Regions from separate parts of the Homo sapiens genome. Here all the other regions are linked to region 5. The links are contacts of gene promoters, found by promoter capture Hi-C in human tissues and cell types (Jung and others, 2019). All regions are on one chromosome and are shown on one strand. Each heading gives the region's core, a stretch centred on a gene start or on the middle of the fragment in contact. The rest is flanking DNA. Distances are from core to core; before and after follow the strand shown.

Evidence for each region. The method cuts DNA at HindIII sites, captures the fragments that hold promoters and counts their contacts. A contact is called where the count stands out against the background at its distance.
Region 1: a contact is called between the fragment with the promoter of KRTAP10-3 here and the fragment with the promoter of UBE2G2 in region 5, in 1 of the 25 tissues and cell types used here (thymus).
Region 2: a contact is called between a fragment that was not itself captured here and the fragment with the promoter of UBE2G2 in region 5, in 3 of the 25 tissues and cell types used here (IMR-90 fibroblasts, mesendoderm cells and stomach).
Region 3: a fragment that was not itself captured here is called in contact with the fragment with the promoter of UBE2G2 in region 5 in 1 of the 25 tissues and cell types used here (mesendoderm cells).
Region 4: a contact is called between a fragment that was not itself captured here and the fragment with the promoter of UBE2G2 in region 5, in 2 of the 25 tissues and cell types used here (dorsolateral prefrontal cortex and mesendoderm cells).
Region 6: a contact is called between the fragment with the promoter of KRTAP10-5 here and the fragment with the promoter of UBE2G2 in region 5, in 1 of the 25 tissues and cell types used here (lymphoblastoid cells).

Annotation. Positions count from the first base shown.
Region 1 is chr21:44,556,046-44,560,102 of GRCh38, forward strand. It overlaps KRTAP10-3 (keratin associated protein 10-3), which reads right to left and starts at 2,750. Exons shown (of 1, transcript NM_198696.3): 1 at 1,745-2,750. The coding sequence starts at 2,670. The coding sequence ends at 2,005. All of the region lies in intron 2 of TSPEAR (thrombospondin type laminin G domain and EAR repeats), which reads right to left. The HindIII fragment of the contact is 7,690 bases long and covers 1-4,057 here.
Region 2 is chr21:44,649,784-44,654,093 of GRCh38, forward strand. All of the region lies in intron 1 of TSPEAR (thrombospondin type laminin G domain and EAR repeats), which reads right to left. Among named protein-coding and RNA genes, the nearest start is that of KRTAP12-4, 2.7 kb to the right of the region's middle. The HindIII fragment of the contact is 1,947 bases long and covers 966-2,912 here.
Region 3 is chr21:44,958,912-44,963,223 of GRCh38, forward strand. It overlaps SLX9 (SLX9 ribosome biogenesis factor), which reads left to right. Exons shown (of 6, transcript NM_058190.4): 3 at 1,189-1,257. Among named protein-coding and RNA genes, the nearest start is that of SLX9, 21 kb to the left of the region's middle. The HindIII fragment of the contact is 4,593 bases long and covers 767-4,312 here.
Region 4 is chr21:45,009,802-45,013,888 of GRCh38, forward strand. No RefSeq gene overlaps it. Among named protein-coding and RNA genes, the nearest start is that of PICSAR, 7.1 kb to the left of the region's middle. RefSeq lists enhancers at 2,078-3,277, 2,163-3,148, 3,149-4,087 and a silencer at 2,913-3,207. The HindIII fragment of the contact is 5,888 bases long and covers 1-4,087 here.
Region 5 is chr21:44,799,808-44,803,939 of GRCh38, forward strand. It overlaps UBE2G2 (ubiquitin conjugating enzyme E2 G2), which reads right to left and starts at 2,013. Exons shown (of 6, transcript NM_003343.6): 1 at 1,899-2,013. The coding sequence starts at 1,941. It overlaps LINC01424 (long intergenic non-protein coding RNA 1424), which reads left to right and starts at 2,434. Exons shown (of 2, transcript NR_109928.1): 1 at 2,434-2,829; 2 at 3,940-4,132. RefSeq lists an enhancer at 1,239-2,194 and silencers at 1,742-1,801, 1,862-2,081, 2,582-2,631. The HindIII fragment of the contact is 9,913 bases long and covers 1-4,132 here.
Region 6 is chr21:44,578,010-44,582,004 of GRCh38, forward strand. KRTAP10-5 (keratin associated protein 10-5) reads right to left here and starts at 2,595. Exons shown (of 1, transcript NM_198694.3): 1 at 1,446-2,595. The coding sequence starts at 2,569. The coding sequence ends at 1,754. All of the region lies in intron 1 of TSPEAR (thrombospondin type laminin G domain and EAR repeats), which reads right to left. RefSeq lists enhancers at 1,739-2,329, 2,330-2,919. The HindIII fragment of the contact is 3,934 bases long and covers 1,076-3,995 here.

The DNA of each region.
Region 1 (4,057 bases), core at 1,500-3,999, 240 kb before region 5:
AGGGGAAGGTTACAGAAAATTTCCAGTTATTCTTAAGAATTAAGAAGTCGTGCCGGGCACGGTGGCTCACGCTTGTAATCCCAGCGCTTTGGGAGGCCAAGGCAGGCAGATCGCGATGTCAGGAGTTCAAGACCAGCCTGGCCAATGTGGTGAAACCCAGTCTCTACTAAAAATACAAAAATTAGCCAGGTGTGGTGGTGCACACCTGTAGTCCTAGCTATTCAGGAGGCTGAGGGAGAAGAATAGCTTGAACCCGGGAGGCAGAAGTTGTACTGAGCGGAGATTGCTCCACTGCACTCTAGCCTGGCAACAGAGTGATACCCGCTCTCAAAAAAAAATAACAACAACAAAAAAAAAAACCAAAAGACCGGGTGCAGTGGCTCATGCCTGTAATCCCAGCACTTTGGGAGGCCGAGGCGGGTGGATCATAAGGTCAGAAGTTCAAGACCAGCCTGGCCAAGATGGTGAAACCCCGTCTTTACTAAAAATACAAAAAAATTAGCTGGGCATGGTGGCCTGCGCCTGTAATCCCAGCTACTCAGGAGGAGAGGCAGGAGAATCCCTTGAATCTGGGAGGTGGAGGTTGCAGTGAGCCGAGATCGCACCACTGCACTCCAGTCTGGGCAACAGAGCCAGACTCCGCCTAAAAAATAATAGAAGTTGCTCCAGGGATTCCAGTTCTGGAAACCTGTTGATGAGATTGTTTGACCCATCATCCTGCTGAAAACAATTGAAAACACTAGGAAGAATCTTCCTAGTTGCAACAGGAAACTGGAAAAGGAATAAAGAATTACAGGATTACAGGCCCAAATCAAAGACAGGGGTCTTTGCCCTTTTTGCACAAGGGAACTTCCCGGCCACCTCGTGAAAGCTTTGGAGGTTTTCAGATAAGTAAAAGGAAACCAACTTCATGAAAACACTGCTGTTACACTATGAAAAAGTGAACTGGTGAGATAGCATGTACTTCCCTAGGGAGCATGTGCCTGGTGGGACCCAGCAGGTGCATCTCGCGCTACCATAATTATGAAACAGCAGTGGCCAGAATGAGGTTTTGAGCATTTGCGGCCGGCATAATGTGACGCCACGCATCTCATTCCTGTTGGTGACAAAGCTGCAGGTGCTGCCATAGGTTTTGTCGGCTACATGAGAGGGTTCCTCACATAAGGCAAAAGAAAACACACCTGTCTTAGAGGCCTCAAAAATGCCCACAAATACTTTCCAAGGACAAAGGTGGTTACTCAGCTGCAAACAGTGAAGCACACAAGGAAACGACACCATGAGCGAGAACTGGTGGAAATGACAGAAAGCTGAAATGGACCCACAGAGACTTCAGGCATTGGGATGACCGTGCACAGATATTTGAAATAAGAGATCAGCTCTAAAATGTCTTCCAGGAATGAGAAATATTTATTTTATTTAATAAGAGAGGGCTGGTGAGAAGATGATGAGTGGGGGTCAGACAGGCAGAGGAAGGAGAGAGGGGGAGGAGCTGAGCCCAGGGAGAGGCCGGGCCGGGTGGGTGTGGGGGATTCACAGAGAAGCACCCCCGGGGCCTGGAGACGCTGAGGCTGGCAGGAGAACCCCACAACAGCAGACCCCGCACAGCGGGAAGTCAGGACTGCCTCCGCCCCTGGTGCTGTCAGCCTGGATGCAGCTCAAGGCCAGAGTCCCGAAGCTCCCACCCCACGCGGCACGTTGAAGTTCTTCCCACAGGGTTTGCCAGATATGCAAAAAAGACCTCTGAGAGGGCACATTGGTGACTTTATTTGTTGACAGACTGATCACTCACATGGGGCAGGACACAGTGACCACCGGCTGGCCAGCATGGAGATGAGGGTGTGGGAGAGATGCATGCCTGGAGGGAATCGGCATGAAAGCTCAGCATTGCTGGCTGGAGGTGCAGTGGCTATGGGCAGAGGAGACTCAGACAGGGCTCAGGGCTGCAAGGATTTTCGGAAGTCAGAGATGGCCCTGGAACAACTCTGGAGAAACGGGACCTGCCCGTCAGCAGCTGGACTTCTGGCCTGAGGAGAGGCCGCAGCACGCGGAAGAGAGGCGGGAGCACGTGGGGCGGCAGAGGAGGGACACGCAGGAGGCCGGGCGGCAGCAGCTGGGCTGGCAGGTGGAGGCAGGGGCACAGCAGGAGGGGATGGGCACACAGCAGGTGGACCTGCACACGGGGCGGCAGAGGAGGGACACGGAGGAGGAGGGTCTGCAGCAGGAGGTGGTGCAGCAAGCCGGCTGGCGGCTAGACTGCTGGCAGCATGAAGAGGAAGCCCCAGAGCAGACGGGCACACAGCAGATGGGCTTGCAGCAGACAGGCTTGCAGCAGACGGGCACACAGCAGACTGGCTTGCAGCAGACAGGCACGCAGCAGGCCTGCTGGCAGGGGGAGGATGTGCAGCAAGCTGGCTGGCAGCTAGACTGCTGGCAGCACGAGGGCGTGCAGGAGCTGGTGCAGCCTGACTGGCAGGGGCTGGGCTCACAGGCCGCCTGGCAGCAGGGGCTGGACACACAGCTCACTGGGGTGCAGACCAGGGTCAGGCAGGGGGCCGGGGCGCAGCAGCTGGTGGCGCAGCAGGGGGGCTCACAGCAGCTCTCTGGGCAGGCGTCCACCTGCCAGGAGTCAGAGTAAGCGCTGGAGCAGACGGACATGGTAGACGTGGCCATGCTGGGGTGGGGAGGAGGTGAGCTGGGGGAGACGTGAGTGAGTGAGTGTGGGAGTGAGTGAGGGAGTGAGTGAGTGATCGTGCCAGGCCTCTGAGTGGTCGGAACCTTTATACCCCTCTGTGTTGATTGTGCTGCCCCTGCCTGGCTTCGAGAAGCCTTCCTCTTCCTTGTTGTTGTTGTAGGCACTGTTGTGTTAGTAGTGTTGGTTCATTGTTTGTGGATGTTCTGGTTTGTGAGGCTCCTGACTGGAGTTAGGGCTTCCCTAATGTGGGCTTGTCCACAGAGATAAACTAGTAGAAATATATTGATTGCATCAAAGCACACTGCAGAAGCAGGGACAGTGGCAGTTAGGAGATATTCTGGAATTGACAGCCCTCTGCTCCATCCCAGGAGGAGTTTGCACTTAAAAAAAGACTTCTACACCTAAGGAGGGATGAGGTTAGGAGAACCTCAGTTTCTGGGCCTTGAGGAAAGGGAGAGATGTGTTCTGCTGTGGACAAGTTTGAAGATGCTCAGTTGGCCTGGCCACACGGCGAGATCCACCCTGTGGGTTGACACTGCTGGTTGTCAGTGGGAACCATGGGGCATATTTCTGCTGGGGGTGAGCCCTGGGGCAGGTGTGAGGGAATAGTGTCTTCCTGGGCAGAGATTGGCTCGCAGAGGGGAGCAGGGAGGCAGCTGCAGGCCCAGCACAGTAGGGATGGAGATGAGGGGCAAGCACCTTTGTTTCATTTCACGTTGAACTGTTATGGGGCCTTCCCCCGGTGGTGTGCACAATAGTGTTCACACCTTCTCCTCTCACATCTCGGGCAACATCACCTGCAATGGTGTCCTTGGGAGCTCCAAGGTCTCTTCCCTTATGGGCCAGAAAGTCATCAGAATGTATTAGTTCTACTGTTGGCTCCTGGACATTGTCATAGTAAATGTACAAATAAAAGGGTCTGATTGCAGAGCCTTGTCTCACAAATACCTATACACCTGTGTGTATCAGCCCATGCCTGTGCCCGGGACCATACCTGTGCGCTAGTAAGCCCCCAAAGTTCTGATCATGGATCCCTCATCTCCTCACTCTATGATCGCTATTTTCTACTAAATCTTTGAAATGGCAAAGGCAGAGGCTCTGATGATGCTCTAGGCTGCAGGGCTTTCCAAAATTAGGCCAGGGGTCCACTGAGTGCTTGGTGGGGGCCCATAGGCTGCAGGGTTTGAAGCCTCTGACCTTTGATGAGTATGGCTAAGGGCTCTGTTGGAGGACTACCTGGCAAAGTCAGACTACAGTGGAAAAATATTATTTCATAGAAATAATAGCTGGACACAGACTGGCAAATTGGATGAAGAGTCATGACCCGTCAGTGTGCTGTATTCAGGAGACCCATCTCACTTGCAA
Region 2 (4,310 bases), core at 689-3,188, 150 kb before region 5:
CCCAGCCACGCGGATTCTCAGTGGACTCTTCCTTCCCAAGGAACCACGATGAAAGACGCCACAGCCCACTGACGCACAGAGGAACCCAGGCTGCTCTCATGGCTTTGCACCGACCTCTTTCCTGGGCTGAACAGTGTCCCCTTAAAAAAAGACATGTTGGTCCAGACGTGGCGCATGCCTGTAATCTCAGCACCGTGGGAGGCCGAGGAGGGAGGACCACTCGAGCCCAGGAGTTCGAGAGCAGCCCAGGCAACACAGTGAGACCCCATCTCCACAGAAAATACAATACAATTTAGCTGAACATGGTGGTGTGCACCTCTAGTCCCAGCTACTTTGGTGGGAAGACGGCTTGAGCCTGGGAGGTCAAGGCTGCAGTGAGCCGTGATCGCGCCACTGCACTCCAGCCTGGGTGACCAGGCAAGACCCTCTCCAAAAAAAAAAAAGAAAGAAAAGGTATATGTTGGATGCTGATCCCTCATACTGTAAACATGACCTTACGTGGAAACAGGACCTTTGCAGATGTAGTCAAGTTGAAGTGAAGTCATTAGTGGGGGACCCTGAGCCAACACCACTTCTGTTTTTATAAAAAGGCAAAATTTGCACACGAACGGGCACCTGGAGAACGCCATGTGACGACGGCGGCAGAGACTGGGGCCACGTGACGACGGGGGCAGAGATTGGGGCCACGTGATGACGGAGGCAGAGATTGGGCAATGCCCCTGCAGGCCAAGGACACCAAAGAAGGCAACAGGCCCAGAAAACAGGACAGAGTCATCCCCCAGATGGGGACAGACTCTCCTTCACCACCATGGAAGGAACCAGCCCCACTGACGCCTTCACCTCGGACTGCAGTCCTCCAGAACCGTGAGATGTGAGCTTCTGCCATGTCACATAGCTGGCGTGGGACTCTGTCACAGCAGCCCCCGGATGTCAACACGCCCTCCAGCTCCAGCCCCCAGTGAGGGTGGAGAGTCCAGGGAAATGGGGCTGGGGGCTGGGAAAGGAGTTCTGAGGGAAGTGCCTGGGGCCTGTGACCTCCTACAGGCCAAGGGACAGGCCACAGAGATCCCCAGAGGTGGACGGAGTCCTCTGAAGAGGGGACAACCATGGCTTGGCTCTGACACACCCAAGAAGTCTGAGGCCGGAATCTGCAGATGCTCTGGGGGAGGACAGGGTGACACTCCCTGATGGTCCCCCAGGTCCAGGTGGCGCCCCACCAGGGAGGGGGCACCAGGGGTGGACTCAGGCTCTGCAGTAGAACCTGGGGAGAGGACAGGTCTTGGCAGAAGGAAGCTGTTGGCACCAGCTAGAGTAGAGCCTCTTCCAGGCTGGGGGAGCCACAGGGAAAAAGCTCCCACAATGGACAGGCCACGAGCGGGAGAGTGAGGCCGAAGCCCTGGCAAGCAGAGAGAGTGACAGCCCAGTCACCACAGGTCTCCAGAGAGGAGACTTGTCTCTCCTCCCCTTTTCTTCTCCTTGCCTCCCCCACACAGCCCCAGACAGCTCACGGCTGTGGCTGGCAAGACCACGCAGTGTGTAGAAACACCAGGCTGTGAGACAGAGAAGTTGGATGTGTGTCCTGTGGCCACAAACTTAGTAGCTTCGAACAACACGAATGGATCATCTCATAGCAGTGGAGGTCCGAAGTCTGCTGTGGGTCTCACAGGGCTAAAATCAAGGCATGGGCAGGGCGGGTTCCTTCGGGAGGCTGCAGGAGAGAATCTTTCCTCATCTCTTTCAGCTTCTGGAAATGGCTCGAGCCCTTGGTTCAGGGCTAGCAGCAGGCATCTCACTCACACCTGCCATGACCTTCTCCTCTGGCCAAATGTCCTCCTCCCTCCTTCTGATAAGGACCCTGTGGAGACACTGGGCCCACCTGGATAATCCAGGGTACTCTCCCATTAGCCACACCTTATGGTCCACACATATTAAGTTCCCTTAATTAGCCACACGTGTGAAGTCCCTGCTGCCACAAAAGGTGACACTCATAGGTTCTGAGAACCAGGATGTGGACATCATTGGCGACCATACTCAGCTGGCCACAGAAGTTCACCTCTATGGACTAAGGGGAAAAAAATCAAGCTTTTAAAAAATGAAAGTTAGTTTGCTTCAGAAGTCTTACTGAGGACTATAGACCGAGGCCTATATAGCCCAGGAGCAGTTTAGGCCTCAGTAAGACTTCTGAATAAAACTTTCTTTTTTTTTTTTTTTTTTTTTTGAAACGGAGTCTCACTGTGTCGCCCAGGCTGGAGTGCAGTGGCGCGATCTCGGCTCACTGCAAGGTCCGCCTCCCGCGTTCACACAATTCTCCTGCCTCAGCCTCCCGAATAGCTGGGAGTACAGGTGCCTGCCACCTCTCCCGGCTAATTTTTTGTATTTTTAGTAGAGACGGGGTTTCACTGTGTTAGCCAGGATGGTCTCGATCTCCTGACCTCGTGATCCGCCCGCCTCGGCCTCCCAGAGTGCTGGGATGACAGGCGTGAGCCACCGCACCGGGCCCCATTCTCTAAAAGTTTAATTTTTTTCCTTAGATGAAAATCACAGTGACCCAGATAGGACTCAGAGTGGACTGCTCAGGGACGTCTGGAACACTGCGGGGACCCAGCACCCCGGTACCAGCACAGGCCACTTGAGCCCCCACGGCTCCTCCATGGTTACAGGTGACTGAGTGACTCTCTCCTGAGTCTCTGACCTCCCACTTGGTTGAGAGTCCTGAGTTGTATTCAGTTAGTTCATTTTACTTCTTGCTGAAGGGGTACATTCTTCTGTGAGACTTTTTATGTCTTACGAAGGGGGAATTCTCCTCGTTGAAAGATACTAGGTAGGAATGGCTTCATGTGTAACCCATACAGAGTCTATACTTGCAAGTATCTTTCTAGAAGTAAGGGGTTAGCTAAAGGAGATTGAACACTGAAATGGCCAAAACTGGGATTCTCAAACATTAAGGCGTGCCAGGTTTTCTGGGACTCCAGTTGACTACATATCATGGCCCATTCTTGTACACATTTTTAAATAGTTAAATTATATCAAGGAAAAGTCAGAACTCAGAATCATCAACCTGCAAATATAGGGTTAAAATGTAGAGTCTTCTGGCGGGGTGTGGTGGCTCACACCTGTAATCCCAGCACTTTGGGAGGCCGAGGCGGGTGGATCACAAGGTCAGGAGATCAAAACCATCCTGGCTAACACGGTGAAACCCCGTCTCTACTAAAAATACAAAAAAAATTAACCAAGCGTGGCGGCGGGCACCTGTAGTCCCAGATACTCGGGAGGCTGAGGCAGAAGAATGGCGTGAACTTGGGAGGTGGAGCTTGCAGTGAGCTGAGATCACGCCGCTGCACTCCAGCCTGGTGACAGAGCGAGACTCCATCTCAAAAAAAAAGAAAGATAAATGATGCTAGTCCTTGCCTTTTCCTGAACAAGATAACGTCTTATAGGGCGAGTGATGATGCCTCTGCGGTCCATAACCAGATGTGCTCCTGCCCCCAAACCCGGATGTGATTCTGCTTTGATGCAGCTTCTGAGCCAGTTTCATGTGATCTGCACGTGCTGACCTCCCGCCACCTGCATATGAACTGTGAGCTGAAACCCGGGGCGGAGCCTCTGACAGGGCTGCCCCCGGGCTGGTGTGAGCTGAAACACGGAGCCGGAATCTCTGACAGAGCTGCCCCCGGCTAGAAACCTCACTCTTCTATAGTCCTCGGTAAAACTTCTGAGTAAAGCTCACTTTAATTCCTTAAAAGCTTTTTTTATCAACACCACAAACCTCTTTCCCATCCAGTTGGATGAAGGAGTAGCTATAGATTTAAATTTAGTTTAAGGTTTTAATTTCTTGACAAGAGTGGGTTGCACATACCAGCTAATAAGCAGATGGCCCGTTTTACCTAAAATGGATCAAACTACAAAATTAGTGATTTGTCCTCAATCTCACCCAGAAGAGAGTAAGAACTGACCTCATACATTTAAGGAACAAAGTGGGACGAAGGAAGCCTGATGTGACTGGGGTTGGGGGTTCCCATCAGGCCAAGCTCAGGAGCACGGCCCACTAGCCCGAGAGGGTGCTGTTGAGAGGCCGCTCACCAGGCCTAACATTCATCTGGTACCTGCCCCTTCTCTGCAGGGAAGGAGCTTTCCAGAATCCTGGGGAAGGTACCTCCTGAGGAAGGAGTGTGGGAAAGACACTGAGGAGAAGGCATCACACAGACTCAGGTGAGCACTCAGCATCTGGTATTTATGATATTTGCAAGAGACCTAACATCAGACAGTGCGGAGGGCCCTGTGGATGGCCCAGGCTGTGAACCCAGGAGAAA
Region 3 (4,312 bases), core at 1,813-4,312, 160 kb after region 5:
CACAACACAGGTCACTGTTCGGGTCAGTTTCCACTGGTCTTAGATTCATTTTTCTTTTGAAACAATTTCAAAACTACAGAAAAGCTGCAAAATCAGCCCCTCCCCTTTGTGGTCGGGAGGGAGAGGTTGGGATGCTATGGAGGAAAGTAGGTCAACCCAGGCACACCAGGAAGCTGTGGGAGGGGATTAAATCCTGCGGGAGCCCTGGGCCTTGGAGGTTTCACACCGGCTCCTGAAGTGAAGTCTGAAATGCAGAGCGCAGCGACTGCCTTTCTCCAGGCAGGGCTTGCTTCTGCTTTGTTTTTCATTAGACATGGTGGATTTGTTGGACAAGCCAGGAAGGTCTGCATGAATTAAAAGAGATACTGGGAGATGTGTTCTGGGGAGAATGCAGCCGAGGCTGAACCGTCTCGGGAAATCAGTTAAGGCCGAGGAAATGGGGGTGCCCTTGAGTCCACTCTGTTTCAGAGCAAACTGGAGTCAGAGACGCAGCACCCAGTGCCCTCTCCACCTGTCCCCACCTGCACGGCCCTGCAGGCTCATCCCACCCCTGCCCCTGTCCCCCCAGCAAATGAGCCTCCTTTCCCCGCCCACCGGGCAGGTGGCTGGGCTCCGCGTGGACCAAGCACAGGGGCACCTGTGGAGTTCACTTTTGGAGGCTCCCTGAGAGGGCCGCTTTGTGGGGTCCAGGGATGAAGCCTCTGGTCACCGAGCACATTGTCGGGCCTGGCAGGGGGCAGGGAGCACGTACGTCGCTGGGCCTGACGTGACCACACAGGATCTTGGGGATGTCCCCCTAAGGGCCTCTGTCCTGTTCGTGGCCCCCTTCATGAGCCGTCGGGCATTCCTGCATGGCTTCACTGCAATGACTGCCCTGACAGTCATTCGGGGCATGAGTGGGGAGGAGGCCTCCTTGTTGGGACACCTGCTTTCCGGGGCAGGCTGGGGTGAGTGGCCAGGCCATCACTGCGGGGGGACGCTGCTGAGAGAGCCTCCTGAGGCCGGGCCGAGGCATGCTGCAGGTGCCCCTGGTGCTGTCCAGAGCCGGGAGTCTGAGAGGCTGGCACAGGCCAGACCAGTTGCAGTGACTGTGGCAGCTCTGCAGTCAGGACCCGCCCCAGCCCATTCTCAGGTCATGGGAGTGCCACCTGGACACGTTTTGCTCACTCCCGTGTTCTCTTTCCTCAGGTGCAGAGGCCAAGACCGTTTTGCCCAAGAAGGAGAAAATGAAGCTGAGGCGTGAGCAATGGTTGCAGAGTAAGTCCATGCCTGCGTCTTGAGGCAGCTGCCGGCCCAAGTCCCATCCCGTGGGCCCTCCTATTCCTACAGCCTCACATCTGGCCTTCTACATCAGCCACACTCCCCGAGGAGTGCCCAAGGGGATCACCCAAGACACTTCAGAGGCTGCTGTGGGGGCCGAAGGACAGTGGAGGCACAGAGAGGTTGGCCATGAAGACTTGGCAGCATGGCCAAGCTGGTCTGGCCTGTTGTGGATGGCACTGCCACCCCGTCCGTGTGGGCACCTGCAGAGCTGGGCTGCCTCCCTTTGGAGGACGGCCTTGGGAAGCTGCTGCTCTCGGCTCCTTGTTTGTAAAAATTACCTATTTTTGTTCCCCACCGTGAAATTTTTTATTGTGGAAGTAACCTGTGCTCGTGGAGTTTTTATGGTTCAGAAGTGCCTGCAGTGGTATGTGAAATCCTTCCAGGCCTTGCCCGCGGTGAAAACAGTGTCTGCGCATAGCGGCGTGGGTGTGGGCAGGGCCCCTGGTGTCCCCAGACCCTTTCAGGCCTGTGGCTCCCTCTTTTCTGAGGTCAGCCTTGCCACGTGCTCCCAGCTGCACGTCTCCGCAGGCTGAAAGCCACACTTCCCACTCAGGTTGTTTTGGAGTATCTCCTTATTTTTCGTGATGCTGGATATTTGCCAGTGTTTTTCTAAGATTGTTTCTCGTCAAAATTATTTTGTATTTTTCGGTTATCTTTTTAGTGTGATTCTGCTGACTTTGTGAAATTAATTTGGAATATTTTCTTTTTTATGTTATCTGCTTTATTTTTTCCTTGGAGGTTTTAAAGAAAATGTATGTTTTTCAGAGGTAGGACCTAGAAAACTTTGTCAGTTTCTTTTGTGATTATTAGTTTTATGGTTTCTATCCCTTTTTGGATATTTCTTAGGGAAATGATTCATTCCTCCATTTTCTTTTTCACAGTTCCTAGCATAGCTGTGAAAGTGGATTTGGACGGGCTACTGGACTGTGGCCATTTGGACCCTGATTTTCTAGGCTGTAATTCTTTGATGATGTGTAAATTTTATTCCATGGCACTTGGTCCTTTTTTTTTGTTTTTTCACAACTTGAGTCAATTTTGGCCACTCATAAAATGATCGAATTTGTCTGAGGATGGTGTCTCATGCCTGTAATCCCAGCACTTTGGAAGGTTGAGATGGAAGGATCACCTACGCCCAGGAGTTTCAGACTAGCCTGGGCAATATAGCGAGACCTTGTCTCTACAAAAAATGTAAAAATTAGTCAGATTAGGTGGTGTATGCCTCTGAGCCTCTAGTCCTAGCGACTTAGGAGGCTGAGGTAGGAAGATCGCTTCAACCCAGGAGTTTGAGGCTGCAGTGAACCGTAATTGCACTAGTGCACTCCAGCCTGGGTGACAGAGTGGGTCCTTGTCTCTAAATAATGTTAATGATCAAATTTAGTCAGATCTCAATCTTCATATGTTAGTTGCCTTCTTATTAAATATTCTGTTTTCTTTATCGTTCTTTATTTGTATCTCCACCTTCATTTCTGATTAAATTAAGAAGTTTTGTCTCTTCCATTTAATAATTAATGTATTTAATAACCAATTCTACTCTTTTGTCTTCAAAATTATTTGTTTTTATTTTGATCACTCCCGTTTTAGCTTTCTTTGGGTTTCAGTTACTCTGCTTATCTGTTTGTATATGTTTTGTTCAGGAGTGAAAGGCTGTAAGTTATCTCTAAATACAGCTTTAGCTACATTTCCCAAGTTACTTTTACTTTGTATTTTATTATGAAAAATTTTATTTAGGAAAGTGGGAAGAATTTTATAGGGAATACCCTGTACCCACCACACAGATTTTACAATCTTTATTACATAACCGTTCATCTAGCAGTTTCTGTCCATCTACCAACATGGGTTTTTAAAAATGCGTTTCAAAGTAAATGGCAGACATCAGTACACTCCACCCCAAATAATTCTGCTAGAGTTCATGGTTCTTTTTTTTTCTTTTTCTTTTGAAGATTGTATTTACATAAAATGAAATGCAAATCTAAAGTGTGCCATTCAATGATTGCTGACAAATGTTGTAGACACCTGTGCAGCTGAAATCCTGTTCAGGTTATGGACCATCACCACCATTCCCCGACAGTCACGCACCCCCCCAGTCAATTACCTCTCCCACTGGCCCCAGAGGTAACAACTGCTGTGTCACCCTTTGTCGTCCACAGTTGAGCTTTTCTTGCCTTAGACTCTGTATAAATGGAATCATGTAGGATGCACTCTTTCTGCATCTGGCTGCTTTTGCTCAGCGTAATGGTTTTGAAACCCATCCAGGCTGCATGTAGCAGCAGTCCATGCCTTTTGATTGCTGAGAAGTATTTCATTGTATGAATACACCATTTGTTACTCACTTTCCTGCTGATGGGCACCTGGGCTTTTTTCCATTTTTAGCTACTGTGAATAAGGCTGCTCTGAACATTCTTTACAAGTCTTTTTGTGGACATGTTTTCGTTTCTCTTGGGTAAGTGCTGAGGAATGGAATGCTGGGTCATAGGGTAGGTGTATGTTTAGTTTTATAAGCAGCTGCCAGACGCTTTTCTAGAGTGGTTGTACACTCACACTCCCACCAGAGCCTGTGAGAGTTCTCCTGGCCCTCAGCTTTGCCAACACATGGCCTGCCGTCTCCTCAGCCTCGGCCGTCTGGTAATCATGAAATGGTATCTCACGGTGGTACTCATTTCCGTTGCCACCAAAAGAGCATTTACATGTGCTTACTGTCCATTTGTGTTTCAGCGTCAGTGAAATTCATTTTTCATGAGGCTTTTTGTCTTTTTATTATTGAGCTCTAAGAGTTCTTTGTCCTAGAGTCCAGTCTTTGGTTGGATATGTGTTTTACAGATGTTTTTCCCAGACTGTGACTTGCCTGTTCATTTTCTTTCTTTTTTTTTTTTTTTGAGATAGAGTCTTGCTCTGTCGCCAGGCTGGAGTGCAGTGGTGCGATCTTGGCTCACTGCAAGCAACACCTCCTGGGTTCAAGCGATTCTTCTGCCTCAGCCTTCTGAGTAGCCGG
Region 4 (4,087 bases), core at 344-2,843, 210 kb after region 5:
TGGGATTTTGCTGAATGTGCAGATCAATTTGGGGATAACTTCTGTCTTACGCACATGGAGTCTCAGCCCATGAAGATGGTGTAAGTTTTCATTTCTTATGTCCTCTTTCGTTTACTCAGCAATGTTTTCTCATTTTATGTGTACAAGACTTTCACACCTTCTATCAGATTTATCCCTAGTTCATAATTTTGATGTTACGACAAGTGTGTTGTTCTTTCCATTTTAATTTCTGGCTGTCCGTTGCTGGGGTATGGAAATGCAGTGACTCTTGGCATTGATCTTGACCTTGCAACCTTGTGATGCTCACTCTTCAGCTCCAGCAGCTTTTTGTTTCGTGAATTCCATTAGATTTTTTTGCATAGATGAACTTGTCTTCTGCAAATAAAGACAGTATTATTCTTTTCTTCCCAATAACGATGCCTTTCATTTTCTTTTTTCCTTCCTAATTGCCCTGACTAGAACCTCCTGTGCAATGCTGAATGGGACCATTGAGAGTGCTGTCCCTGACTTGTTCCTGGCCTCAGGGGAAGCACTCAGTCTTTCACAAGTAGGTGTGATGTCAGCTGTCGGGTGTTCAGAGATGCCTTTTATCAGGTTGAAGAAGTTGCTTCTACTCCTGTTTGCCAAGAGTGTTTTGAGAATGCATGTTGGAATTTGTCAAATGCTTTTTCTGTGTCTATTGAGACAATCACATTGTTCTTCTTTCAGTTTGTTAATATGGTGACTTAAATTGATTTTTACGTGTTCAATCCTTAAGACAATCCTGATATATTGGGGAAAATTCTCCTTGGTTATGATGTATCATCTTTTTAATATGTTGTTGGGTTCAATTTAGTAAGCTTTTGTTTAGGACTTCTAAAGGGGGATGCTTGTTCCTATATTCTTCTCCTGTAATGTCTTTGGTTTTCATATCAAGATCATGCTGGCCTCCTGGAAGGACTTGAGAAAAATCCCTGCTTTTCAACTTTCTGGAAGAGCTTATGTAGAATTGCTATTAGCTCTTTCTTAAATGTTGGCTGGAGCTCCCCTGTGAAGCCGTCTAAGCCCGGGGTTATTTTGTATGTGAGAGGGGAAGATTTTTAACTACAGATTCAATTTGCTCATCAGCCTTCTGCTGCCTCTCAGGGGCCCTCTGTGCCTTTCCAGGGTTCTCGCTAGGTGCAGCTCCCCTCTCTCACCCTCTGCCCTGCAAGCTGTGGCTGCCTTGGTCTCCCCGACTCTCAGCGTCCTCAACTCAGGAGATCCCTGGCTCCACCTGCGTCACCTCCCAGCACTGTGACCTGGAAACTCTCTCCGGGAGGTCGGCCGGGCCCTCAGAGGGCTCATCGCGTCCGTGTCCCATTTCTCGGGTCACGGCTCCTTTTTGTCTGATGCCCATTGCCTTGAGGACCCTGGTTTCAATAGTCTTGTCTCTTATTTAGTTGTTTTGGGCAGATAAGTACATTCAGCCCCTGTCACTCCATCTTGTCTAGAAGTGGAAGTCTACTGTCTTTTATTTCTTTCACTAGAATAGTAATTTAATACATGTTTATTGTAGGAAATCTAGAAATACAAAGATACATGAAGAAAATGGTAGGAATCACTTATAGTCTCACCGACAGCTAACACGTTTAGTGTTCTCAACAGCACAATATTCTCCATCTCTGCTGAGACCCATCCCAGCAGAGGGGTGCCCGCACGGCGAGGCCGGCACAGGCCCGCGTGGGACCCACTGCCAACGCCGAAGCCAGGGTGTGACCTCTAGCTGCAGGGCCAAGGCACTGAGGGGCAGCCCCACTCACCCCTCCTTCCAACCTCTCCAGCAACAATCGGTGAGCCCCGACCCTGCCTGGAACCCTGGGGCCAGGTCGTCTGTCTGGACAGCGGCCTACAGGGAACGCACCAGAAGGTGTGGTGGGGTGGTGCCTCCCACCAAATCCACCAAAATTTGAGGAGCAGCCGCATCAAGCCCCTTTCATTGCACGTCTGAATCCCCACGCGTGGCGTTTCCTTAGAGGCAATTTCTGAAAAAGGGATTTCTGCTCAAAGTGTGTGAGCCTGTCAGGCTCTGCCCAGTATGCCAAGTCTGCAGGACCGCGTCACATTTGACCAGATAATTATTTGGGAACAGCACCCGCATGGAGCAGCCCCACAGAAGCTTCGAGCCCACACCTGGGTTCTGGCCCATTGTGTTCACGCCCCCCACACCCCGCCCGACCCCAGCTGCCGCAGGAGGGCCGGCTGATAGAGGTGGTGCAGACATTGGTCCTCACAGCCGGGCAGCCTTGAGGGGACCACACACCGCCCCGCCCAGGGCCTCCAGCACCTCGGCTCACTGCCCCGGTTCCAGCAGGAATGGGGGCCACACAACCCGAGAAACACAGACCACGCCACTGCCGAGCTGCACGAGCTTCAGCTGCAACAAATCGCCACAGAGCAGGCAGCTGCAACATCAGAAATGGACGTTCTCACAGCTCCAGGTCCAAAGTGGTTTCACTGGGCACAATAAAGGTGTAAGGTGTCTGCAGGACTCCTCGAGGCTCCTGCCGCCTCAGCCCCCGCGCTGCCCCCTTGGCCTCCCTCTCGTGGCCAGCAGAGCAGCACAGCGCTGGTGACACGTGGTCTGGTGGGGCAGACCTCCCCTGCTAAGAACACCAGAGGCGCCTCAGTCCCACCCGGATGATCCGAGATAATCCCCCGTCTCAGGGCCTCTCACTGAGTCCCCCCTGCAAACATTCCTGCCAGGTGAGGTCACTTTCCAGGGATTGGGGCCCGGACATTCCAGGGCCATCACTCAGCCCACCACACAGTGAAAGCACAGGATGCAGTGTCACAATCAGACCAAAGAACTGTTCCTTAGCTCCTCTTAGGGGCAGAATAGAGAGCACAGGGCTGAGGAGTGGCCCCCTCATGGTCCCCCTATCTCACCTGCCTCAGGTCACCTCCAGACCCTTTAACACCCAATGGTGACATTTCAGAGGCAAGGAACAGATGGACAGAAATCAGGGATTTGTGCCTGCAGGGAGTGGTGGGCGGGGTTCAGGGCTGAGCGAAGGAAGCTCCGGCAGACAGGTCCTGGCAGGAGGCTGCAGAGAGGAGGCGGCACCTGAGCCCGAAGGGAGCAGCTGGGGAAGAGGTGTCTGGATGGGACATGCCTGCCACTGACCCAAGTCTGTTCCTGTGGGTTACCCATTTCCCACGTAGACTTCTTAAGGATGGCAGCCTGGGCAATGCCCTTGTCTCTGTCCCCAACGCACACCTGGAACTGAGGGGGGAACGCATCTGTAGTGAAAGGAAGAGAAAGAGTAAAGCTGCAGCAACTCTTGGAGGGCTGAACCTGGGAGCCCAGGGAGGTGAAAGCAGATGGAGGCCCCAGTCCTGGGGAGGTGAAGGCAGGGGCAGAGGGGCCTTGATGGTGGTGGGGCGTGGTGGGGGCGTTGCAGAAACAGCAGCCAGGCTGGTGACTCTGGGGACTCCCCCTGCAGGGAGAGGGAGGCCCCGGCTAAAGGCCAAGGCTGCCCCGCACCCAGCGAGCTGTGCAAACAGCCAGCAGAAGGCCCACCGGCCCTCTGGGGACAGAGCTGAACTCACCCTGGGCTCTGCAGTACCACCAGGGGCAGCCTGCTGCTACAGGGCGGGCTCACACCTGGGGGAGCTGTGGGCAAGCAGGCCCTACCTTGGGGGCTGGCACTGCTGTGGGTCCCCTGGCTTTCACAGACCGACCACTCATGCCACCGGCACCAAGCGGACCTGGGACCTGCACGCCCTCGGCTCATCTGAGGGTGATACTGATGGGCTGTGCAAGGTCCCCAGACGCTGATGGGACCTCGATCCCAGCCAGTGTCAGGGCTCTTGACACCACCGCGAGAAGGAATTCAAGGACAAGTCCGAAAATAGTCAAAGTACAGAGATTTATTGCAAAGTGAAAAGTCTACACTCAAGAGGGGAGTTCGCGTGGACTCACAAGACAGTCGCGCAGTGAGGTTTGGGGCTGCTGCCTTTATGGGTTTTTTTTTAAACCAAGGGGCAGAGTCCAAGAAGATTCCTGGAAAAAGGTGGAGATTTCTCAGAACTGTGGTCCCACCAGTTTTTACTCCAAACATGGGTG
Region 5 (4,132 bases), core at 763-3,262:
GACTTTCAACATTCCTTCCTCACTAAACTTAATCATTTCTAGCTTTTGATTTGAAGTGGGTAGAGTGCAACTCTTCACTTCAACACTTGAGCCCACTGTACAGTTACTATTGGCCTAATTTCAATGTTGTTTTGTCTCAGGGAAGAGAGAGGCCGGGAGAGAGATGGGGAAACAGCCAGTCAGTGAAGCACACACAACATTTATTAGGACTACCATCTTTTATGGGCATAGTTTGTGATGCCCCAAAATAATTACAATAGTAACATCAAAGATTACTGATCATAGATCACAGTAATAGATTAAAATGTAAGAGAGAGACACGAAGCGAGCAAAAATGGTGCCAACAGACTTGCTTCCATGCAGGGTTGCTTGTAAAAAACTTGTAAACTTGTAAAAAATGCAAGATCTGCGAAGTGAAGCTCAATAAAGCAAAGCGCGCGGGAAACTGAGGTGTGCCTTTATGTTCTGCTTTAGCAGACACTAGGTGGCGAGCGTTATTTGAACGTTTACAGGAGGCCCTGTGTATCTGCGGCTGCATATCCATGGATTCGACCAACCAGGAATACAAAATATTTGAAAAAAATAACAATAAAAAATGACGATTTAAAAATACAAGTAAAAAAAATCAGTGTAACTATTTGTGCAGCACTTACATTGCATTAGGTACTATAAGTAACCTTGAGATGATTTAAAAGTTATGAGAGGCTATGCATACATTAAATGCAAATACCACGCCACCTTATAGTAGGGACTTGAGCATCCGAGGATTCTGGTATCTGCAGCGGGGCCTGGAACCAATCCCCTCCAGATACCAAGGGAAGAATGACCATACGTGAGTGAGCCTGTATTTGCAACGTTTTGGTCTGCTTAAGCCAAACATCAACTCTTACTGGGCGGTGTCACCAATAGTTTTACGAAATCAAGCTACATGTATATTCACCACTTATTTTTTTTCTCACATTCATTCTTTTAGCTTAACTTTCTTCCAAAATTATCCTCAATCTAATTACAAAAGCAGCAGCTAACTTTATTAAGGGTTACACATCAGGTATTTTGCTAAGCACTTCACCTGCAGTATCAAGTTTAACCTTTTAAGACAAGGAAACTGCAGAGACAGAGAGAGGAACAAGGTCAAAGAGCTAACAAGCAGAGAGGCCGGGTCTGAACTCAGGCCCTGCTCTTAGCCGGCTACTATCTCGTCTCCATCGGCGACTCAGGCTCCTGGCGCTTTCAACACAATGGTATTCCAAGACTTCTCGCAGCAGTTCTTCCAAGCGGGCATTCGGTGTAAAACGATGGAATGCCGAGTGTTCCTAGGTTCTCATTTCTCCCTTCGCTCTCCTCAGACATTAGAAATATCTAATTTACCGGGTAGGAAAGCACTCAAGAGGTTTCCTCAACACTACCTAGGAGGAGTGACAGGTGGCACTGTTCAAAAACCCTTTTCCTTCATTAGAGGGAAAGCCAAAATCTGACCTTTCAAAGCTCCACCAACGAGCCTTTCCCCTTTTAACGCATACACTTTTCCCTCCTAATTCCGCAGCAGCAAGTCAGGCCTTCTTCCTCAAGCTCTCACTGCACGTTCTCAAGGCTGCCAAGAAAAGAAAAAATAGAAGAGAAAAAAACAAGCCCGCAAAGACTCAACTGTGTGTGCTCTCAACTAACACGGCGCCGGCGCTGCCTTTACTGATGCTGGGAAGGCTTCTCTTCACGACTTCACGCGTGAGAGTGGGCAGCGGGCGCAGGGCGCGGCACTCCGCGGGACCCACAGGGGGGCTCACGGTGGAGGCCCCGGGCCCGGCTCCCCCGCCAGGCTCCCTGCCCCAGCCCCGCCGGACGACGCGGGCCCGGGAGCAGGAACGCGGGACGCTGCTGACGGCCCGGGTCCCCAGACTCACGTTTGTACTCGGCCATCAGCCTCTTGAGCGCGGTCCCCGCCATGGCCCCGCAACAGCTGCGCCGAGCGACCTCGCCTCAGCCGCGCGCGTGCCTCCTGCCCCGACACCGGGGACTGCTTCCGGGCCACCGTCGCGGGCCCAGGAACTCTTCCGGGGCGTGGCGCGTGCGCGATCGCCGAGGCGCGCTGTCCGGGTGGTGGGAGCTCAACCCGCGACCGCGGCTACGATTCTCTTGGCTCCTGCCCTCGCCTTAGTCGCTCTGCGGGGTTGGTTCGGTCCCGGCACTTCCAGAGGCCTCAGGGTCCTGGTCTTGTAGAGACTTCCTGAACGGTGGCGCCTGTTCCAGTGTGTGTGCGCTAACTGCCTGTTCTGTGCCAGCCGCGCGTGGCCGAAGGGCGGGAGGACGGGGGTTGTGGAGGGGAGGATGGAGGTTGGGGAGACAGGGCGGGGACGAGATAAGAGGTCGGGGGGTGGGGAGGATGGTCGCGGGGCGGTCTGGGGCTGGAGACAAGGGGCCTGAGGTGCGGGTACGCACTGAACATTCCAACCGTCCCCAGCCGGCCGGGTTTCAGGTTTGAAAAGGTGGGAAGGTTAGCTGTCCTGGCGCTTTTCCTCCACGTGTTGTGCGGCTCCGCTGGAGTTCGGGTCCAGCACCTTCTACTCCGAGGGAGAGAGCCGCGGGGAGAGCCCTGTTCGGGCCCGCGGCTCGAACTGACCGCCGGCTCTGCCGAGCAGCCTCGACCCCAGGGCACCCCCGGGAGAGAGGGCGCGGCTCAGGTCCCTGCCCGAACCCCTGGGGTGCTGAGAGACTCCCCAGCGCCCCGCGTGGGCTCCCGGCCTCTCCACAGTTGAGGATCCTGTAAGGGGCGAGCCCTTTTTCCCATAATGGCTGTAGTGAGTGGGTGTGCTTTCCCGATTGACCCGCTGTGAGGTGAGCGATTTTAACCCACATCCTTACTGACTTCACAGCACAGTAGGTGCTTCGTGGCTGTCCGGTGCAAGGATGTATATACACACACACCTTTGCAAAAAAAGTTTGCATCTCTTGCCTGGCTGTTTGTTGCAATAATCTATCATTTGTCTTTTCCTTTCCAGCATTGCAGATGATCCCTTGAAAAGAAGTCTGATCACATTCACACTCTGCTCCGCCCATTTCACTCAGTAAAGCTGAAGTCCTGCAGTGCTTTGCTCTGCCTCCGGTCACCCCGCCATACTCCCAGACCCTCCCTCCCTCTCACTCCACTCCAGCTGCCCTGGCCTGGTTCAGAGTCCCTGACTCTTCCCTCCCCGGAAACACTTTCTGGCGGCTCTTGTCCCCGACTCTTCCCACCTGCTCTTTCAGTCTTTGCTCAAATGTTGCCTCTTCAGTGTGGCCTAGGCCGTCACCACCCGGCCTTCACCGCATACCTTTTTCTCTGCAACACCTACTCAACACACCGTACTATAGAACTTACTGGCATGCTATAAATGTATTACCCTTATCTGTTGCCTCTAACCAAAAGCGTGTTCCATGAGAGCCATGGGTCCCTGCCTACTTCTGTCTTGTTTCTGGGGCAGCCTCTGTACCTGGACATCGTATACTCTTAACACGGATTTGTCAAATCAAATGAAATTTAACAATACAAACTTCACAAGTATGCATAGTGTAGGAAAATTCCCCAAAATTCAAAATTTCAGTCTACCTCCATCTTTTCAAATGACCACAGTGCTTTATAAAATGACATGGTCCTTTGAGACTGTTTCAGAGAGTAATTTGTGCAAATGCAATGTGCAAAAAGTCACAGTGGAGGTGTTTCCTCCCCCATTCAAGAGCTGCTCTCTCTCTAATCAGACAGCACCCCACACCCCAAGGCAGTCTGTCCAGTGCTCCTAAAGGAGAGCAGCTCCCCTTTTCCAGTTATGGGAGATGTGGGCAATAAAGCATTACTGTCAATGCCGTGATGTTCACTGCAACATATGCTTGATGTTTTCATAATTTTATCCATCTTTTTCAGACATCTTACTGCAGAACACTGTATGTTTTCCAATTATTATTTTTCAGAAATGTGGTTTACAGCTTCTATCAGGATTAGCTTCAGCTTCAAGTGACAAAAGTCACTTGAAATATGAGTTGCTGAAACAAGATGGCAGTCTCTCCCCTCAACAGGACTGTTACAACACCTTATCTTCAGAGAACCAGGCTCTCTGCAACATTTCAGGGACGTCGTTCAGTACCTTATGTGGAATTCAAGCTT
Region 6 (3,995 bases), core at 1,345-3,844, 220 kb before region 5:
CCCTGCACAAGCTCTCTTCTCTTGTCTGCCACCAAGTGAATTGTGCCTTTCACCTTCCACCATGATTGTGAGGCCTCCTCAGCCATGTGGAACTGTGAGTCCATTAAACCTCTTTCTTTTGTAAATTGCCCAGTCTTGGGTATGTCTTTATTAGCACCATGAAAATGAACTAATACATCAGGAATGAATAAAAGGTTGCCACTACAGAATCTGTAGATATTTAAAGGAAACCAAACAAATAATGCAAACAACTCTATGTCAATACATTCAACAGCTTAGATGAAATAGGCAAATGACTGGAAATGCATCATTTATGAAAAGGGATACAAGAAGAAATAGAAAATCGGAATAGCCCTCTATCAATTGAAGAGACTGGACTCATAATTAAAACCCTTCCCACAGAGACAATGCCAATCCCGAATGGCTTTGCCATTGAATTCTACCAAGCATTTAGGGGAGAAATAATGCCAATCTAACCCAAACTTTTCCAGAAAACCGTGGGGTAGACACAGTGTCGGCGAGGGTGCTAGGGATTAGGGGACGGAGGCTGAGGCCTCACGGGTGGCAGGGATGCCCTTGGTGGGCTCTGGCCATGGACACAGACTCCTGGGATGAGAGGGGGACTCATGGAGGAACACCCACGCCTTGACCCTGAGATGGCCTTGCAGGGAGGGTAACTGAAAATTTACCCACTGGGGACAGTTGCCTACTTACTAAAACAGTTCCAGCCACCACCGCAGCCCCTGGAAGGCCATCCCCCCAGAAAATCCCCCAGGTCTCAGCAGGGCCTTGTCCACCTGTGCCCTCCAGTGTCGCCCATGTCAACCTCACCTAAGAGGGGCCTGACGCACGGTCCTGCAGGTGCGGACTCTGGGTCCTGAAAGCCCATGCGGAACCTGGTGCCCCCAGAGGAGGGCCTGGGGCAGTGCCAGTTTTGGGGAATCATGTGCATCCATCCACCCACTCCATGATGCTTTCGTCCTGATCGAGTCCCTTGTCTCCTGCGCAGGTGCAGCAGCCCCTCCCTCTCCCCCCGCATTGCTGCTAAGCGGGCAGAACTCTCGGGCGGGCGGCACACAGGGAGGGTGACCAGGCCTGGAGGCTGCGGTGCCCGGACCCCAGGCCAGCTTCCTGGAAGGTGACCCTGCAGGGTGGGCTCTCCCAGGTGGGACAGTGGGTGGGACAGTCCTGGGGCCTGGAGAGCCCCACAGCCCAGGGCACGGCAGCCAATGACCAGGCTCAGGAAGACCCAGGCATGGAGGCTGAGCCGGGACTGAGCCTTCCTGGGCGTGGCTGTGAGTTCCACCTGGTGACCCCCTGGAGGAGTTAGGCCACTGTCCCCCGTGACTTCTAGGTTAAGTCACTCATTCATAGAAACAGTCATGGCTAGAGACCAATCTGAGCTCAAAACCATGTATCCCCAGGAGCACTACAGAAAAAGAGAATCAGGCGACCAAGGGGAGTTTATTGGGGAGCAGGAGGAGGTGCTGACAGGTTCAAGTCGAGGCCAAGTGACATGGGGCAGAGAAGCTGGGAGGGAGGACAGGGGACCCAACAGGCAGGTGGGCCCCTGCTGGGAGGCAGGAGCTGGGGAGCTTCGAGGATGGAGATTCCTGGGAGTATGGAGGGGGGGGTCACCTCAGCACATGGGGGCCCCGTCCCAAGCGGGGGCAACCTCCTAACCCGAGTCAGGACCAGTTGGCCCTGGGGGATGTGCACATCAGCAACTGGACTCCTGGCCTGAGCAGAGGCCTCAGCAGGCCAGGGGGGAGCACGCGGGGCGGCAGAGGAGGGACACGCAGGAGGCCGGGCGGCAGCAGCTGGCCTGGTAGGAGGAGGCAGGGGCACAGCAGGAGGAGATGGGCAGGCAGCAGGCGGGCCTGCATATGGGGCGGCAGAGGAGGGACACGGAGGAGGAGGGTCTGCAGCAGGAGGTGGTGCAGCAAGCCGGCTGACAGCTAGACTGCTGGCAGCATGAAGTGGAAGCCCCAGAGCAGACGGGCACACAGCAGATGGGTTTGCAGCAGACAGGCTTGCAACAGACAGGCACGTAGCAGGACTGCTGGCAGGGGGAGGAGGTGCAGCAAGTCGGCTGGCAGCTAGAATGCTGGCAGCATGAAGAGGAATCCTCAGAACAGGTGGGCACACAGCACACGGGCTTGCAGCAGACAGGCACACAGCAGGACTGCTGGCAGGAGGAAGAGGCACAGCAAGTTGGCTGGCAGCTAGACTGCTGGCAGCATGAAGAGGAATCCTTAGAGCAGGTGGGCAGGCAGCACACAGGCTTGCAGCAGACGGGCACGCAGCAGGCCTGCTGGCAGGGGGAGGAGGCGCAGCAAGCCGGCTGGCAGCACGAGGGCGTGCAGGAGCTGGTGCAGCCTGATTGGCAGGGGCTGGGCTCACAGGCCGCCTGGCAGCAGGGGCTGGACACACAGCTCACTGGGGTGCAGACCAGGGTCAGGCAGGGGGCGGTGCCGCAGGGGGGCTCACAGCAGCTCTCTGGGCAGTCGTCCACTCGCCAGGAGTCAGAGCAAGCGCTGGAGCAGACGGACATGGTGCACGCGGCCATGCTGGGGTGGGGAAGACGTGAGCTGGGAGCTGGGGGAGGTGTGAGTGAGTGAGTGTGTGAGTGAGTGAAGGAGGGAGTGAGTGAGTGAGGTGCTCAGGGCTGTGGGGCTTTTAAATCCCTCCCTGGCGTGTGTTGTCCCGACAGGAGGCTCCACAAGCTTCTCTTCCTTGTTGGTGTTTAGAGCTGGTGGCTGGAGATGCGTCATTCATGCTGGTTTATCTGTTTGTTTTTCCCTCATTAAACTTGTGTGTATGTTGCAGGGCCGTGTTTCTTCATCGGTTCTTATTTTAGCCCCAGAAATGTGGTGGAAAATATTTCAAGCAAACTTTTGTTGAGTAGAGGTTTTAGAGATGAAGACTTCTCTAAAGGGAGGAATTCTAGTTTCACCTATCCTGTGTTTGGACTGATTGGATATATTTTATTACTTTTAGCATATTAAAATATAAATAGGTAGAAAAATATGCATTTCTTATAAAATGCAGCTGGCACAGAGGGTACGATGAAGCTAAGTGGCCCTCTCTTCAACCCCTTGTGCCTCGTAAGGGGAATGCTCAGAGATTTGGTATCTGGTGGATCTGTGCTTTATCCTTGTCTCTTCAGCTCTTCCATGCCACCCTCAGAGCCCTCTCTCTGTTTTATTTGAAGCTGCGCTCTGGGTTTTCTCCATTTTTATTTCCTCATGGTGACAGATCAAGTACTTTTTCACATATGGTGATTTTAGGACATACATTTTAAGATTTCTTTCTTGCCTAAAAATGTACTCAACTTTACCCTCACACTTATATGATAGTTTAGCTGGGTATATAATTCTGGTTTTAAGTCAGAATTATTATTATAAATAATAACAAAAAATCTGTTTTCTCAAAATGATGAACCTGTGTCACCATTTTTCTGTAGTGTCCAGCGTTGCTGATGAGAGACTGAGGTTGGTCATTTGTCATTTTTTATAGTTTGTCTCTCTCTCTCCGTTTAACTCTCTGGGAACATTTGGTTTTCTTTTTATTCTTCTTTTGTTTCTATGCGTGTGCATTATTTTACTTTCTGTGGTTAGAATTCATTGAGCCTTTCAATGTGGAGACTCAGGAAGTGTTTTGCGCTCTTAAAAATAACTCATCTCTCAAGGTCTTTCCTTTTGTGACTTTAATTTTGTCTCACGATGAATGAAATACATTTTTGGCTCACTGTAATGATGTTATGTTGAGCATTTAAACGTTTTTCCCCTCGTTTCACTGGACATCAGTTAAGCTCTGCTCATTGGTGGCAGTTCATTTGATTTTCTGAGTAAAAGACTATTTTATTCCAGGGCATTGGGGTCCTGATCCAGTTTACATTCTAATTTGTTTCCATCTGTTTCTCTTTTCTACAAATATATAAAGGATTTTAAAGAGCCTCCCTTTTTGTTAGACAATTTTGATTTTATTTTTTA